5 separate regions of the Homo sapiens genome follow, and all the other regions are linked to region 4. Evidence: promoter capture Hi-C in 16 types of primary human blood cells and fetal thymus (Javierre and others, 2016). All regions are on one chromosome and are shown on one strand. The core of a region is centred on a gene start or on the middle of the fragment in contact, and the rest is flanking DNA. Distances in the headings are between cores, read along the strand shown.

What was found. The method cuts DNA at HindIII sites, captures the fragments that hold promoters and counts their contacts. A CHiCAGO score of 5 or more calls a contact.
Region 1: a contact is called between the fragment with the promoter of SVIP here and the fragment with the promoter of ARL14EP in region 4, in 3 of 17 cell types (total B cells, naive B cells and total CD8 T cells). The highest score is 9.2, in total B cells.
Region 2: a contact is called between the fragment with the promoter of TRIM44 here and the fragment with the promoter of ARL14EP in region 4, in 2 of 17 cell types (total CD4 T cells and non-activated CD4 T cells). The highest score is 15.0, in total CD4 T cells.
Region 3: a contact is called between a fragment that was not itself captured here and the fragment with the promoter of ARL14EP in region 4, in 2 of 17 cell types (naive CD8 T cells and non-activated CD4 T cells). The highest score is 7.5, in naive CD8 T cells.
Region 5: a contact is called between a fragment that was not itself captured here and the fragment with the promoter of ARL14EP in region 4, in 1 of 17 cell types (non-activated CD4 T cells). The highest score is 5.6, in non-activated CD4 T cells.

What each region holds. Positions count from the first base shown.
Region 1 is chr11:22,828,459-22,831,158 of GRCh38, forward strand. SVIP (small VCP interacting protein) reads right to left here and starts at 1,343. Exons shown (of 4, transcript NM_148893.3): 1 at 1,237-1,343. The coding sequence starts at 1,290. LINC02718 (long intergenic non-protein coding RNA 2718) reads left to right here and starts at 956. Exons shown (of 11, transcript NR_187210.1): 1 at 956-1,153. RefSeq lists an enhancer at 938-1,247 and a silencer at 1,398-1,467. The HindIII fragment of the contact is 1,537 bases long and covers 124-1,660 here.
Region 2 is chr11:35,661,377-35,664,076 of GRCh38, forward strand. TRIM44 (tripartite motif containing 44) reads left to right here and starts at 1,399. Exons shown (of 5, transcript NM_017583.6): 1 at 1,399-2,404. The coding sequence starts at 1,736. RefSeq lists enhancers at 1,056-1,375, 1,587-2,087 and a silencer at 1,416-1,795. The HindIII fragment of the contact is 12,326 bases long and covers 422-2,700 here.
Region 3 is chr11:36,505,256-36,507,955 of GRCh38, forward strand. All of the region lies in intron 1 of TRAF6 (TNF receptor associated factor 6), which reads right to left. Among named protein-coding and RNA genes, the nearest start is that of TRAF6, 3.7 kb to the right of the region's middle. The HindIII fragment of the contact is 528 bases long and covers 1,029-1,556 here.
Region 4 is chr11:30,321,810-30,324,509 of GRCh38, forward strand. It overlaps ARL14EP (ARF like GTPase 14 effector protein), which reads left to right and starts at 1,295. Exons shown (of 4, transcript NM_152316.3): 1 at 1,295-1,393. It overlaps ARL14EP-DT (ARL14EP divergent transcript), which reads right to left and starts at 1,137. Exons shown (of 2, transcript NR_187437.1): 1 at 1,109-1,137. RefSeq lists enhancers at 957-1,562, 1,075-1,324 and a silencer at 1,395-1,524. The HindIII fragment of the contact is 9,349 bases long and covers 1-2,700 here.
Region 5 is chr11:22,632,239-22,634,938 of GRCh38, forward strand. It overlaps a transcript of GAS2 not described here. Among named protein-coding and RNA genes, the nearest start is that of FANCF, 7.8 kb to the left of the region's middle. The HindIII fragment of the contact is 205 bases long and covers 1,218-1,422 here.

The sequences.
Region 1 (2,700 bases), core at 93-2,592, 7.5 Mb before region 4:
GCGGGCGCACAGACAAATATAATGAAGTAAGTAAACGTCTGTCAGATGGCATGGCAGATAAGTAATGGGAGAATGGGTGGGTGGTATTGTGGGGAATATATTTTGTTTAACGTGGTCAGCAAAAGCTTCACTGGTAAAGTGACATCCAAGCAGTGAGCCGTGTGGTTATCAAGGGAAGAGGGTATAGTATGAGGATGGGGGGGAGGGCTTAACAAATCTGACATGTTATATTTTATCGACAGCCAGAACAACAAAATCAACTTAATTTAAAACAACAGCAGCAACAAAGAGAAGCTGAACTTTCCCACATCAAATTTATAAGTACTAAATTTTTAGTATCTATAGTAGCTGAAGAGTTAATGTACTTCCCAAAAATACTTCATTTTCTTCAACTAATTTTTAGCTAGAGAAGAGAAACAGGTTTATGTTAACTCCCTGTAAGGAGTACTAATGTAAAGATACTGTTAACAGAAAGCTACAAAAAGTGTACATGTATTGTACCACACACCCACTAGCTACATTTGAATTTCAGATAAGCAATGAGTAATGTTTTTGTAGAACTAGATCCCTAATATTGCATGGCACAAAACGATATTATAAACGTATTCCTTGTATATCTGAAATTCGAATGTAACTGGGTGTCCAGTATTTTTATTAAATACGACATTATAAATTGGACACTCTGTACTACATATTCTTTTAAAGGGAGAACGTAAAAGAATGAGATAAATACTAAAAAGAAATCATTAAAAAAACATATCCGATAAAGCTCAGGCGTATAAGCGACTTTCCGAGCACCTTCTTTTAAAAGATGGTAGACACAGTTGAAAACGCACATCTCCTAGACGACTAAAGAGCTCCCGGAGAAAGCAATGTCTTTTCGCGCCGAATTCCATCTACCACATCCCCCGGAATGTCCCACGCGTAACGCCCTCTGCGTGCGCCGGCGCCCTATGAAGATCCGGCGCAGCTAAAGTCAGTGGAAGGTAGAAAGACGCCACAGCCGCCTTTCGACAACTTTTTGTTACAAAAGTGGAGATCTACACGGAGGCGACGGCCTAGGTCGCTCTGACAGGACCCAACGACCCTCCTGACGCGTCCACCCGTCCTCGCTAGCAGGGTCCCCCAGCGGGCTCTCGACCTGCGCCACCAGGTACAATGGCTCGGCCCGCCCCGCAACCCGAGGACAGGTGCTCAAGGCGCGGCCCGGCGGACGCAGGGACCTGCTCTACTCACCAGGTCCGGCGTGGGAGGCGCGGACTCCCCGGGACAAGGAAAACACAGCCCCATAGGGACGACAGCTTGAGAACCCTGACCGGGTCCGGCCCAGGCCAGGCGGCGCTAACTGCGCGGTCCGGAGCCGGTCCCTGGTCCTCCGCGCTTGCCCCGCCCCCACCGCCCTCCACTGGCTCGGCTCCGCCCCAGCGGCAACGCCCCGCCCCCACCCCGCAGCTCTGCCCCGCCTCGCCTCTCTGCGGCAACGCCCCCCTCTTCTCGCGACACCAACCAGTCCCACAGCTCAGCTGCGCCCCCTTAAGGCATTGCCCCTTCCTCACCCACAGCTCCGCCTACCCCCGCCCCGCGACCGCTGGGCTTGTGGCCAAAGCCTAGGTTCCAGGAAACACCTGCTGTGGGTAGCAATGCAGGGAAGGGATGGAAAAGCTTCGCTACGGTTCCAAAGCTCTTCCTGCTAACCTTGCCTTACCATTTATAAATGAATGAGTGGTACAGCTCTGGGTAGTTCATGCTACCTTTTTTTATGAGATGGGACTCTGGTGTCCTAGAAATTAAAGCCAAAATTCCAAGTAAACATCAGCACCCTTTTCTCCCTTCTTAGTGACAGTGCTATTCCAGAACAGAGGGCAGAATATAAAATCCATTATTATGACGATGAATCTAGCGTCATAAATGTGGCATTAGTTGACATTTCCACTAGTTTCTGGTATTTAGAAGTCATTTATCCTTCCGAGAGAAATAATAAAGTTTCATCTACTGAGAAATGTTTTAATGATTCTCCTCAAATTTTAATAAGTATGAGAATCAGCTGGGCAACTAGTTAAAATTTACTTGCTGATTTAGTAAGTATAAGGTGGGACCTGAGATTCATTTCCAGTAAACCCACAGGTGATACTAAAGTTACTGATCTCGTCTCCACACAAATGCTTTTATTTTATTTTATTTTATTTTTGCATTCTATTAGTTATTTCTGCTTATGTAAAAATTTTCAAACATTACAAAAAGGTAGGATGTATAGTGACAGCGTCTCAGAAACCATTGTCGGCTTTTTGATATACTTGCTGGTTAATTTTTTATAGATGTATAATTTACATATAATATTATGCACTTATTTTGATTGTAGAGTTCACTGAGTTTTAACAAACATGTGATCACCACATTCAAGATATGTAAGTTTTCCATCACCCAAAAACCTTCTATTGTACCCAATCCCATTCAATACTTTATCCTATACCTAGATCCAGGAAACTATTAATTTGTTTAATATCACTTTAGTCTTTAAGTTTTGCATAAATGTTAATATCACTATAGTCTTTAAGTTTTACATAAATGAAATATACAATATGTTTTGCAAAAGCCATAATATTTTCTAAATTCTTCCATGTTATTGAATGAAACAGTAGTTTATTCCTTAAATAATAGGGGATGATGCTTTTTTAATACTATTATTCGATTGCATGGGCC
Region 2 (2,700 bases), core at 149-2,648, 5.3 Mb after region 4:
AATATCTAACAAAAGCTGCACAAAGATTAGGCATACATTATCCATGGAGACATTAAAAACTATTAAAAAGGTTTTTTTACCCCACCTCATCCCCTGGTATGTTTGAGGAAAGCATCTGGAAATTCTAACTCAAAATCATCTAAGGGAATCAATGTAAAACAGACACCATTCCATCCCCTTTCATCCTTCTTAATACACCTCAGCCTCTCCCTTGACTAGATAAAAACGTAATTTTCCCTCTCCCAAATACAGTGCAAAACAAAAACTCTTCTGTGAATGGAGAGACATGGATATGGGGTAGAGGTGGAGACTTGCCTACATTACCAGCAGCCAGCCGAAAATGCCCTGTGTGTGTAAAATATGTTCCTTCAAAGGGGCATTGTGAGCACTAAATATAATTTGTGCCAAAAATAATAATGAAAGCTTAGTGAATACTCTACAGTGCAGGCATCGTTACATTTAATCCACAAAACTACCCCATGAGGTAGATATTTACCGTTCTTTTCACTTAACATCTTTTTTAAAAAGCGGAAAACAGAATGATGAATTAACTTGTCCATGGTCATAAAACTGATAGGTAGTGGCACCAGGATTTGGGGACCATCGGGCAGAGGATCTTCCAAAACCGGCTTTTAAAGAGCCACAAAAAGATGTAGCCGGGTTCTTGGCACTACAGTACTGCTTTATAAACAACAGTTCCCTTCTTTTCTCTTAGAGCCCAGTGGGAATCTAGAGGGACACCTTACATAAAGGAAAATGACTGCAACCTGGACCTGTCACTCGACAAATACTGCCTCTCCCCACCTCACTTCACCTGACGTCTCTGCCCAACCGAAGGCAGCTCTCAGAAAACCGCACAGAGGTTACCACCCCAGAAATTCTGAGATCCTAGGAGGTAGCAATGCAAATAGACAAAGCACAGTATTGCTTTGGATCGAAAATATTTGTTTGCTCATCCTAACTCCAATTCCCCTAGCCTAGAACAAACATAGCCCTTCCGCACTCAGGAAATCCCAAGAGGTCAGGTTCAGTCTGGTAAACAACACTGTCCGGGCACCTTGCAGAACACTGGGGACTGTGACGGGCGGCGACAAATTGGCACAAGAGAGACTGAAATGCACAGGGACACCAGCCTAGTGGCCGTGAAAACTCAAGTTGACACTTCCAGGGAGGGAATGGGGGAGGTGGAGCCCAATTCCTGCTTCTGGAGAGAGTAAGAGACTTCCTCCATCCTCCTTCTCCCTCCTCCTCCTCCAAGGCACGCTGAGATTTGGAGCGGAGGAGCTGAGCCCCGCGGGAAAAGCAGAAAAGGGTCATTGCCACTTTAAATGACTCAGGAAGTAAAAGGAGGCCTCCTGACGGGGAAAGGGAAAGTGGAACCGGGGCGGCGCGGGGGCCGGCGGCTGCCGCGATCTCTCCCTGGTAGCGGGAGGCTGAGCGGGCGGCGCGACGCGGGGGCCGACGGGGGCGCCGGGTGGCCGCGCCGGAAGTGCCTTGCGCGGCAGAGGAAGCGCAGGGACAGAGCGGAGCAGGCCGAGCCGGCGGAAAGGGTCTTTGCTGCTGCGCCCGGGCAGGGGCTGCCGCGGCCCCAGGTCCCGCTTCGAGACGCGGCGCGGTCCAGGCGGGAGGCGACTCCCTAGGAAGGGACCCGGGGCGGGAGGAGGAAGTGAGGCCGCGCGGAAGGAAGGCGGCGAGCCCCGGGGCCCCGAGGCCTTGGCCGCGTCACAGCACCCACATGGCCTCTGGAGTGGGCGCGGCCTTCGAGGAACTGCCTCACGACGGCACGTGTGACGAGTGCGAGCCCGACGAGGCTCCGGGGGCCGAGGAAGTGTGCCGAGAATGCGGCTTCTGCTACTGCCGCCGCCATGCCGAGGCGCACAGGCAGAAGTTCCTCAGTCACCATCTGGCCGAATACGTCCACGGCTCCCAGGCCTGGACCCCGCCAGCTGACGGAGAGGGGGCGGGGAAGGAAGAAGCGGAGGTCAAGGTGGAGCAGGAGAGGGAGATAGAAAGCGAGGCAGGGGAAGAGAGTGAGTCGGAGGAAGAGAGCGAGTCAGAGGAAGAGAGCGAGACAGAGGAAGAGAGTGAGGATGAGAGCGATGAGGAGAGTGAAGAAGACAGCGAGGAAGAAATGGAGGATGAGCAAGAAAGCGAGGCCGAAGAAGACAACCAAGAAGAAGGGGAATCCGAGGCGGAGGGAGAAACTGAGGCAGAAAGTGAATTTGACCCAGAAATAGAAATGGAAGCAGAGAGAGTGGCCAAGAGGAAGTGTCCGGACCATGGGCTTGATTTGAGTACCTATTGCCAGGAAGATAGGCAGCTCATCTGTGTCCTGTGTCCAGTCATTGGGGCTCACCAGGGCCACCAACTCTCCACCCTAGACGAAGCCTTTGAAGAATTAAGAGTAAGTATTGGGCCTTCAGAGCATAAACCTAGGGGTCAGGACACCTGGGTTTCAACTCAGGTGGCCTGGCTGTGACCACATTCGCTTTCACTGTGTCCCTAAGAAGCTAGTCTTTCCAACTTTTTGGGAGCAGTTCTTATTCACCGTTTTTGGTTGAACTCTTTTGAGAATCTGATGAAAGTTCTGGACTCTGACCTGAGAAAATACACACAAAATCTAGTATACAATTTCTAGAAAATTGCAAGTTTCTGGTCTGTGGATCCCAGGTAAAGCATTTCTTGGGAGTTTTGACCCCA
Region 3 (2,700 bases), core at 43-2,542, 6.2 Mb after region 4:
ATACACTGAAAATTTGTTGTCTGGTGTAGCCACCTTCATCAACGATCGTAGCTAGATCTTCTAGATAATGTGCTGTAGTTTTACATCAACACTTGCTCTTTCATCTTGCACTTTTATGTTACGGAGATGCGTTTCTTTCCTTAAACCTCATAAACCAATCTCTGTTAGCTTCCAACTTTTCTTTTGCAGCTTCCTCACCTCTCTCAAACTTTACAGAATTGAAGAGAATTAGGACCTTGCTCTGGATTAGGTTTTGGATTAAGGAAATGTTGTGGCTAGTTTGATCTTCCATCCAGACCATTACAACTTTCTCCATATCAGCAATAAGGCTGTTTCACTTTCTTATTAGTGAGTTCACTGGAGTACCACTTTTAATTTCCTTCAAAAACTTTTCCTTTCTATTCACAATTTGGCTAAATGGCCCATTTTGACTTCTGATGTGCCTTCTTCAGTAAGCATAATTATTTCTAGCTTTTGATTTAAAGTGACAGACATGTGGCTCTTTGGTTTACTTGAACACTTAGAGGCCATTGTAGGATTATTAATTGGTCTAATTTCAATATTGCTGTGTCTCAGGGGAGTAGGGAGGCCTGAGGAGAGGGACAGTAAGGGAACCAGCTGGTCAGTGGAGCAGTCAGAGCTCTCACATTTATTAAGTTCATCATCTCATATGGGTGTGGTGCATGTACTCCAAAACAACAATTACAATAGTAACATCAAAGATCGCTGATCACAGATCACTATAACAGACATAATAAAGTTTAAAATATTCCAAGAATTACAAAAATGTGACAGACAAATACAAAGTGAGCACACGCTGTTGGAAAAATGGCGTGCAAAGACTTGCACAACACAGGGTTGACATAAATCTTCAATATGTTAAAAAAAAAAAACAAAAAAGTATCCGGGAAGTGCAAAAAACCAGTGCTATAAAATGAGGTATATCTGTACATTTCTGTGTCCAATTACTTCCTTAGGTAAATTTCCTAGAGGTAGAATTGTTGGATCAGAGGGTATGTAACTTTTTAAGCTTTCTGATAGATAATGCTGGTTATCTAATATGTATCAAAGACATTCTAATTTCCACTCACACAAGCACAGTATATATGCAAGAGTCCATTTTCTCTACGCTTGACAACATCAGGTATATTTCAGTCTTGAACCATTTTTTTTTTAAGTAAAATCACTTTTGAGAAATTAGTATTTGTTATTTGGTGTAGGACATATATCCAAGTGCTGGCCACAAGACAAAGGCAGAAATTATGAAGCTAGGTGTATCTTTTCTTTTCTGCCCAAATGTCCAGTTTAAAATATAGTTTATTGGATAGTCTATACACTGCCTGCTTCCAGTCCAGTTCAAAAGGCTTGAAGGTCTTTAGGTCTGAAGAGACCTTTTATAGCTAATGTGTTCCTAAGAAAATCTGTCTAATCAGTTATAATTCCTTAAAAGGAACTCCACTGTGGGAATGCAGTGTGACACATAAAAGTGAGCATGTTCAAAATCTATTTGCCTTCAAGTTTCACATTACTTTCCACGCTTTAAGATGCAATCCAGAAGCTTTCTATTTTCCAAATAAACTTTTTCATATAGTTATCCTTTAAGTCCACAGTATTTAGTTTCATGTAACTAGACATAAAGGGAAAATTAAGTTAAAAACAATTCTTGACTGCCACTTAGCATTTTTGTTTCCTCTTTCTTTGGTAAAACATTTTGTCCCTTTAGTTTTAAGAACTGCAATGACTTAAGGAAAAATCACCTAACTTAATTATAACGATAACTAACACTAAGAGAAGAACAAAAAGTGCTTTGTATATATACGTATATACACATAAATGTATATACGTGTATATATGTATATATACATGTATTATACATACATAAATGTATATATGTATATATACATGTATTATACATACATAAATGTATATATGTATATATACATGTATTATACATACATAAATGTATATATGTATATATACATGTATTATACATACATAAATGTATATATGTATATATACATGTATTATACATACATAAATGTATATATGTATATATACATGTATTATACATACATAAATGTATATATGTATATATACATGTATTATACATACATAAATGTATATATGTATATATACATGTATTATACATACATAAATGTATATATGTATATATACATGTATTATACATACATAAATGTATATATATATACATGTATTATACATACATAAATGTATATATGTATATATACGTGTATACATGCATATATACATGTATATATGTATATATACGTGTATACACGTATATATACATGTATATGTATACATACACGCGCGTGTATATATGTATACATACACGCGCGTGTATATATGTATACATACACGCGCGTGTATATATGTATACATACACACGCGCGTGTATATATGTATACATACACGAGCGTGTATATATGTATACATACACGCGCGTGTATATATGTATATATACACATACATACATGTATTATACATATAAACATATACAAATATATGTATATATTATATATGTGTATATATACACATATATACATGTATTTTATATATGTGTATATATATACATATATATACACACACTTTTTTTTTTGTCAGGGTCCTGCTCTATTGCCCAGGCTGGAGTGCAGTGGCACGATCATGGCTCATTGCAGCCTCCACCTCTTGGGCTCA
Region 4 (2,700 bases), core at 45-2,544:
GTCCACTTACCACAACTCTTTCACCTTTTCACTGGATACTTAAATTGAATAGGCTATATTATTTAATAATCTTAATTTGATCTGTGAGCCTTCTCTGTTTCATTACCTTTAGGATAGCTTGCCTAGTTTACTAGGAAGTCACAATTGCATCAAATTAAGTTCCATGCAGGCATTAATCTCCTCCCAGAACGCTCCTGCTTTAGCCCCTATCATTTTATCCTGTTTATATCCATGTGTTTCTGTTATGACACTTTTCACACCACACTGTGATTAACTGTTTATTCCTCTCTCACTAGTCTGTGAGCTCCTTGGAAGCAGAAATAAATTTTGTTTTTGTCTAATCATTGCTTAACAAAGTGCCAACCACAAAGTAAACAGTAAAAGAATTACAGAATGCAACCTCCTGCAGACACAGTTGAAGAAACTATTCATTGTTTTTTCCTTTCTGTCATTCCCTAGTTCTAGGCATCAAATCGCTTGCCTAGTCGGCGAGCAGTATGAAAGTGGTGGGAGGACCATAGACGCACTGCAGAAAACAGCTTACAGTAGATGCAGAGAATTACTAGCACGCTTGGGCCTTGGTGGGGCTTGTCTTATTTACCTGTTCCTCATTTTTCACTGGGAGTTTAAAACAAGTTTTTGTTTCCCTGCTATCCCGACCTTAAGATAATTAAAAGGCCAAGAATCTTTAAGAGACTTTCAGTTCTCCTGGATTCTAGATAATAAAACCCACTTTAAAAATTAATGAGCACCTATACTGTGACAGACAATAAGGATACAATAAAAATACCATTTCTGTTCTGAGAAAATTTACAAGCATCTTCCTGGAGCCTACATTTTACTCGAAGTAATAGCTATTTTTATAGCTTACAATAAAAGATGCATTTTGGAATATATTTCGCTTGAATTAAAGAAATAGAATGTGAGACCTTAAACAAAGGGTCCGTTCTTCAGATCCTTTTAACTCACACTCTCCTTCAGGGGTCGGGGTATTTGGGTGCAAAAGTTTACTATCACGCACAGGTGTAGAGATGTACAAATACGATCCAATTTAGTGGAAACTGTGTCTTGTAAGAGATGGCCCCCAGGGACCTCCCACATCCCTAACCTCTCGGAGGACTGCAAAAGACAGCATCTGAAGCACCTCTTGCCTCGCCTTGAATCATTTGCCACTTCACACCGCCCCGCCCCTTCCGTCCCCGGAGGCGGCCAGCCTCGTGTCCGCTCTAGGCTTCTCCCGGACGTCTCTTTGTGGTGGCGTTGAGCTCCTCTAGCCCGCGCTTGCCGTCCTCTCAGTGGTAGCGCGGGGACTGGCTGGGAAGCGGTCGGTCGAGTGTGGCCTGTGTGGACTCGCATCTTGCCCGAAGCCGGGCGGAGGAGAGCTCAAGCTAAGGTGGAAGGGGAACGGGGGAGGCCCTGGAGAGGAGTGGGAGAGTGGAGACAGGCCCCTGGGTGGCGAGGGAGCCCGGCGGCGTAACGGGGGAACCCGGGGAGAGGTGGAAGAGGAGGCCCGCACACGTGAGGGGGATTTCCAGCTGCTGGCCGGGGCCTCTCACCCCTACCCCCGCGTAGTTCATCTGCGACGCAACGCCTTGTGTCAAAGCCCAGCACAGGTTCTGCCGCCTCTGACCTCTCTGAGGGTCGTCGCCTGTCCTGTAGGCCCAGGACCTTCAAAGCTACGATTTTGACGTGAACTACTTAGGGTTATTGTGGCCTTGAACTCCGTAGACAGCCTTTATCTCTGCTATTTTTGTTTTTAATTTTTCAAATCAGAATCCTTTCAACCCTGGCCGTTTGAGGCCAAAGGCTAATGTTTATTTTTCCATCCCGGTACCATGAACTTAGTAGGTGCCCACTGGACGGATCTGGTGGTTTTAGTCATTTGTAAATAGCCGTGAACTAAGGAAGAAATGTATGTGGCCTCTTACAGGGTTGGGTTGGGAATCATTGCAGGGTTTGGGGGCACTCTGTTAGGCATGATAACAACAGCTCTAGGCTTGAGTTTCTTCATCTGTAAATGAGAATGATAGTACTTTCCTCAGGGTGGCTATGAAGGTTCCTGAAATGATGTTTGCCCTAAGCACTGTACCTGGCATGTCCTGACTACCACACTTGAACCAAATCTTTTCAATGGTGTTATGGACTATATTTTTGTTTTAAATTGCCTTTACCTTTCTTATTGTACCTAGATCTTCCTGAGGATTGAGACTCTCCTCTTTGCCTTTGGGCCAATTGTCATGTTATAGGTAATCAGTATTTGAAGATGACAGGCACAAAAAGTTCACAGTTGCAGGATGCGTGACTTTTGTAGGCGTATGTACCCATAACTAAAGCTCCTGATTTGGGGAGTAGGGGTAGATTAAATTATATTTTTATTAAATAAGAGATAATCTGGGAAGACGCTGTGTAAGTTGTAAGACCCTATGCCAAGAAAAGCCTTTAATTTTTTTCATAAAACATTTCATGAAAACTTTTTTTATGTTTTTCATAAAAGAGACATCAGTTGACCTAAAAACGAAGTAAATTTTTTGTTTTGTTAAATTTCCTCTAAATGTTACTTTTCCCACTAATAAGGAGACTGGTAACAAACTAAAAAACTATGTTAAGGGAAATTAACATATTGGAACGGGTATTTCTGCATCTCCCCTACAAATTTAGGAAGAAAAAGTGAGTTCCCTAATTAATCCTCAATTCCCTCTG
Region 5 (2,700 bases), core at 70-2,569, 7.7 Mb before region 4:
GTCAAACAGTGACATATTCCCTTAGCATTTGCTTGTCTGAGAAACAGTTTATTTTTCCTTCATTTATGAAACTTAGCTTTACTGGATACAAAATTGTTGGCTGATAGTTATTCTGTTTAAGGAGGCTAAAATAGGACCATAGCCCTTTCTGGCTTATAAGGCTTCTGCTGAGAAGTCTGCTGTTAGTCTAAAAGGTTTTACCTTGTAGGTTACCTGATGCTTTTTTCACACTGCTCTTGGAATTCTTTTCTTCACATTGATTTTAGATAGCCTGATGACTTTAGCTCTTGGTGTTGGCCTTTTTGCAATGCATTTCCCAGGAGTTGTTTGAGGTTTTTGTATTTGAATATCTAAATTGCTGGCAAAGCCAGGGAAGTTTTCCTTAATTATTCCCTCAAATAAATAAGTTTTCAAAACTTTTTGCTTTTTCTTCCCACTCAGGAGCATCAATAATTCTTAGGTTGGCCCTTTTACATAATCCCATGTTTCTTAGAGATTTTATTCGTTTCTTTTCATTCTTTTTTTTTTTATTTTTGTGTGATTGGGTTAATTCAAAAACCTTGTTTTCAAGTTCTGGAATTCTTTATTCCACATGGTCTAGTCTAATGTTAAAACTTTTCCCTGCATTTCGTAATTCCCTAAATGTGTCTTTTGTTTCCAGAGTTCTGATTTTTTTTTTCTTTAAAATATCAATCTGTTTAGGAAATCTTTCATTCATAACCTGATTTTCTTTTACATTTTATTGTGTTGTTTTTCACCTTTTTCTTGTATTTCCTTGAGGAACTTAATAATCAACCTCTTGAACTCTTTATCTGGTATTTTAAAGATTTCATCTTAGTTTGGATCCATCGCTGGAGAGTCAGTGGAATCTTTGTGGTGTTATAGAATCATGTTTTTACATATTGCTAGAGTTGTTTTTCTGATTTCTTCTCATTTGGGTAGACCATTTCTTCTAATTACTTCTTGAATTTATTTTTTATTCAAATGTGGTTTTTCAATTTCTGTTTTTCCCTCTTGAGGATATGACTGTAATGTTTATAGTTTATTTTAGCCTATTTCAGCTCTTGGTGTTTTCAGTGATGAAGAATCTGTGTGAAACATCTGTATGAACTCCTTGGTGTGATGGCCTTCTCAGATGCTGGTTATAGTAGCAATGTGCTCAGTGTGTGAGCAGGTTTACTGTCTCCTATGGGGCCAGAATGACAAAGATGTCACAAAGCTTATTTTGTTCCCCAGTGGTGTACATTAATTCATTAATTAATTTATTTATTTTCCCAGTATTTTATTCACTGGGTTGAACAGTTCAGGCTTCAGGCCAGTAGGAGGTGTTCATGGGTAAAAACAGGCTGCAGCTAAAGCAGGTGTGGAATGCAATATCCAGTGATGGGCAGAGGTCCTAACCTTGACAGAGGCAGCTGGAGAAGCTTTCAGTGAAATGCACTAAGGTCTTTTCAGGGTGAAGGGAGGAGCCACTGTAGTTCCCCAACCAGGCCAGCAGGAAAGTGATCCAACTCCCAGTCACACTCCTGACCCAGTGTTCTAGCTATTCAGATGAGACAGGCATCCCTTTTCTTCTGTAGGAATGGTGATGTTACATGTAGAAAAGGACTATGACTCTATCCCTCATGTAAGTCTGCACCTGGAGGGCACTCCTCCTGTGGGGATGCAGTCACCCGAAAGTGTTCCAGGAAGCCTCTCTACATGTGTACCCATGCCAAGCTCTTGTGGGAGAAGCCACAGCTATGTTTGCAGTGATGGGCAAGAGGAAGTGTATTAGTCTGTTTTCAAACTGCTGAGGAAGACATACCCAAGACTGGGCAATTTATAAAGAAAAGAGGTTTAGTTGATTCACAGTTCCACGTGGCTGGGGAGGCCTCACATTCATGGCGGAACATGAAGGAAGAGCAAAGGGATGTCTTACACAGTGGCCAGCAAAGAGAGAATGAGAGCCAAGTGAAAGGGGTTTCCGCTTATAAAACCATCAGATCTTGTGATACTTAGTCACTACCATGAGAACATAATGGGGGAAACTGCTCCCATGATTCAGTTATCTCCCACTGGGTTCCTCCCACAACATGTGGGAATTATGGGAGCTACAATTCAAGATAAGATTTGGGTGGGGACACAACCAAACCATATCAGGAAGAAAAAGTCTTCTTCCCCAGGTTCCTTCATGAGCACCAGGGCTAGCTGACAGTTGGAGTAGAGGCACAAACTTTCTCCACTGAGCCCCACACTGCACCTGTTGTGCCTTTGCTGAAATAAACTCCCCACAAATAGACAGTTTTGGGACTCAAGGCCTGCAGTCTGGATTCTTTGGTCTCACGGGGTGCTCCCTTGATGTGGTATATTCCCACTTCCCCTAGGAGGAGGGATCCCTGAGGGCCAAACTACTGTGAATCCTGCTGCTGCTCTTCTGATTCTAGCCACCCAGTGGGGCTGCCATTCTCCAGGATGGTGCTGGGGAATGTCTGGAAGGGATCCAGTGATAGGACCTGTTCTCTAATCTCACAGTAGTGGGTACCAGCAGAAGTTCTGATGGGGGTGGCAGGGGAGTGATGTAGACTCTGTGAGATTTTCTTGGTTGTGAGATTTTCTTGGTTATAAATGGCCTTAATGTGTTGCTATTCTCAAATGCCAGCTGTAGTAGTAATATGCTGGTCACGTGAATAGACTCAAGACCTCCTGGTTAGCCAGAGT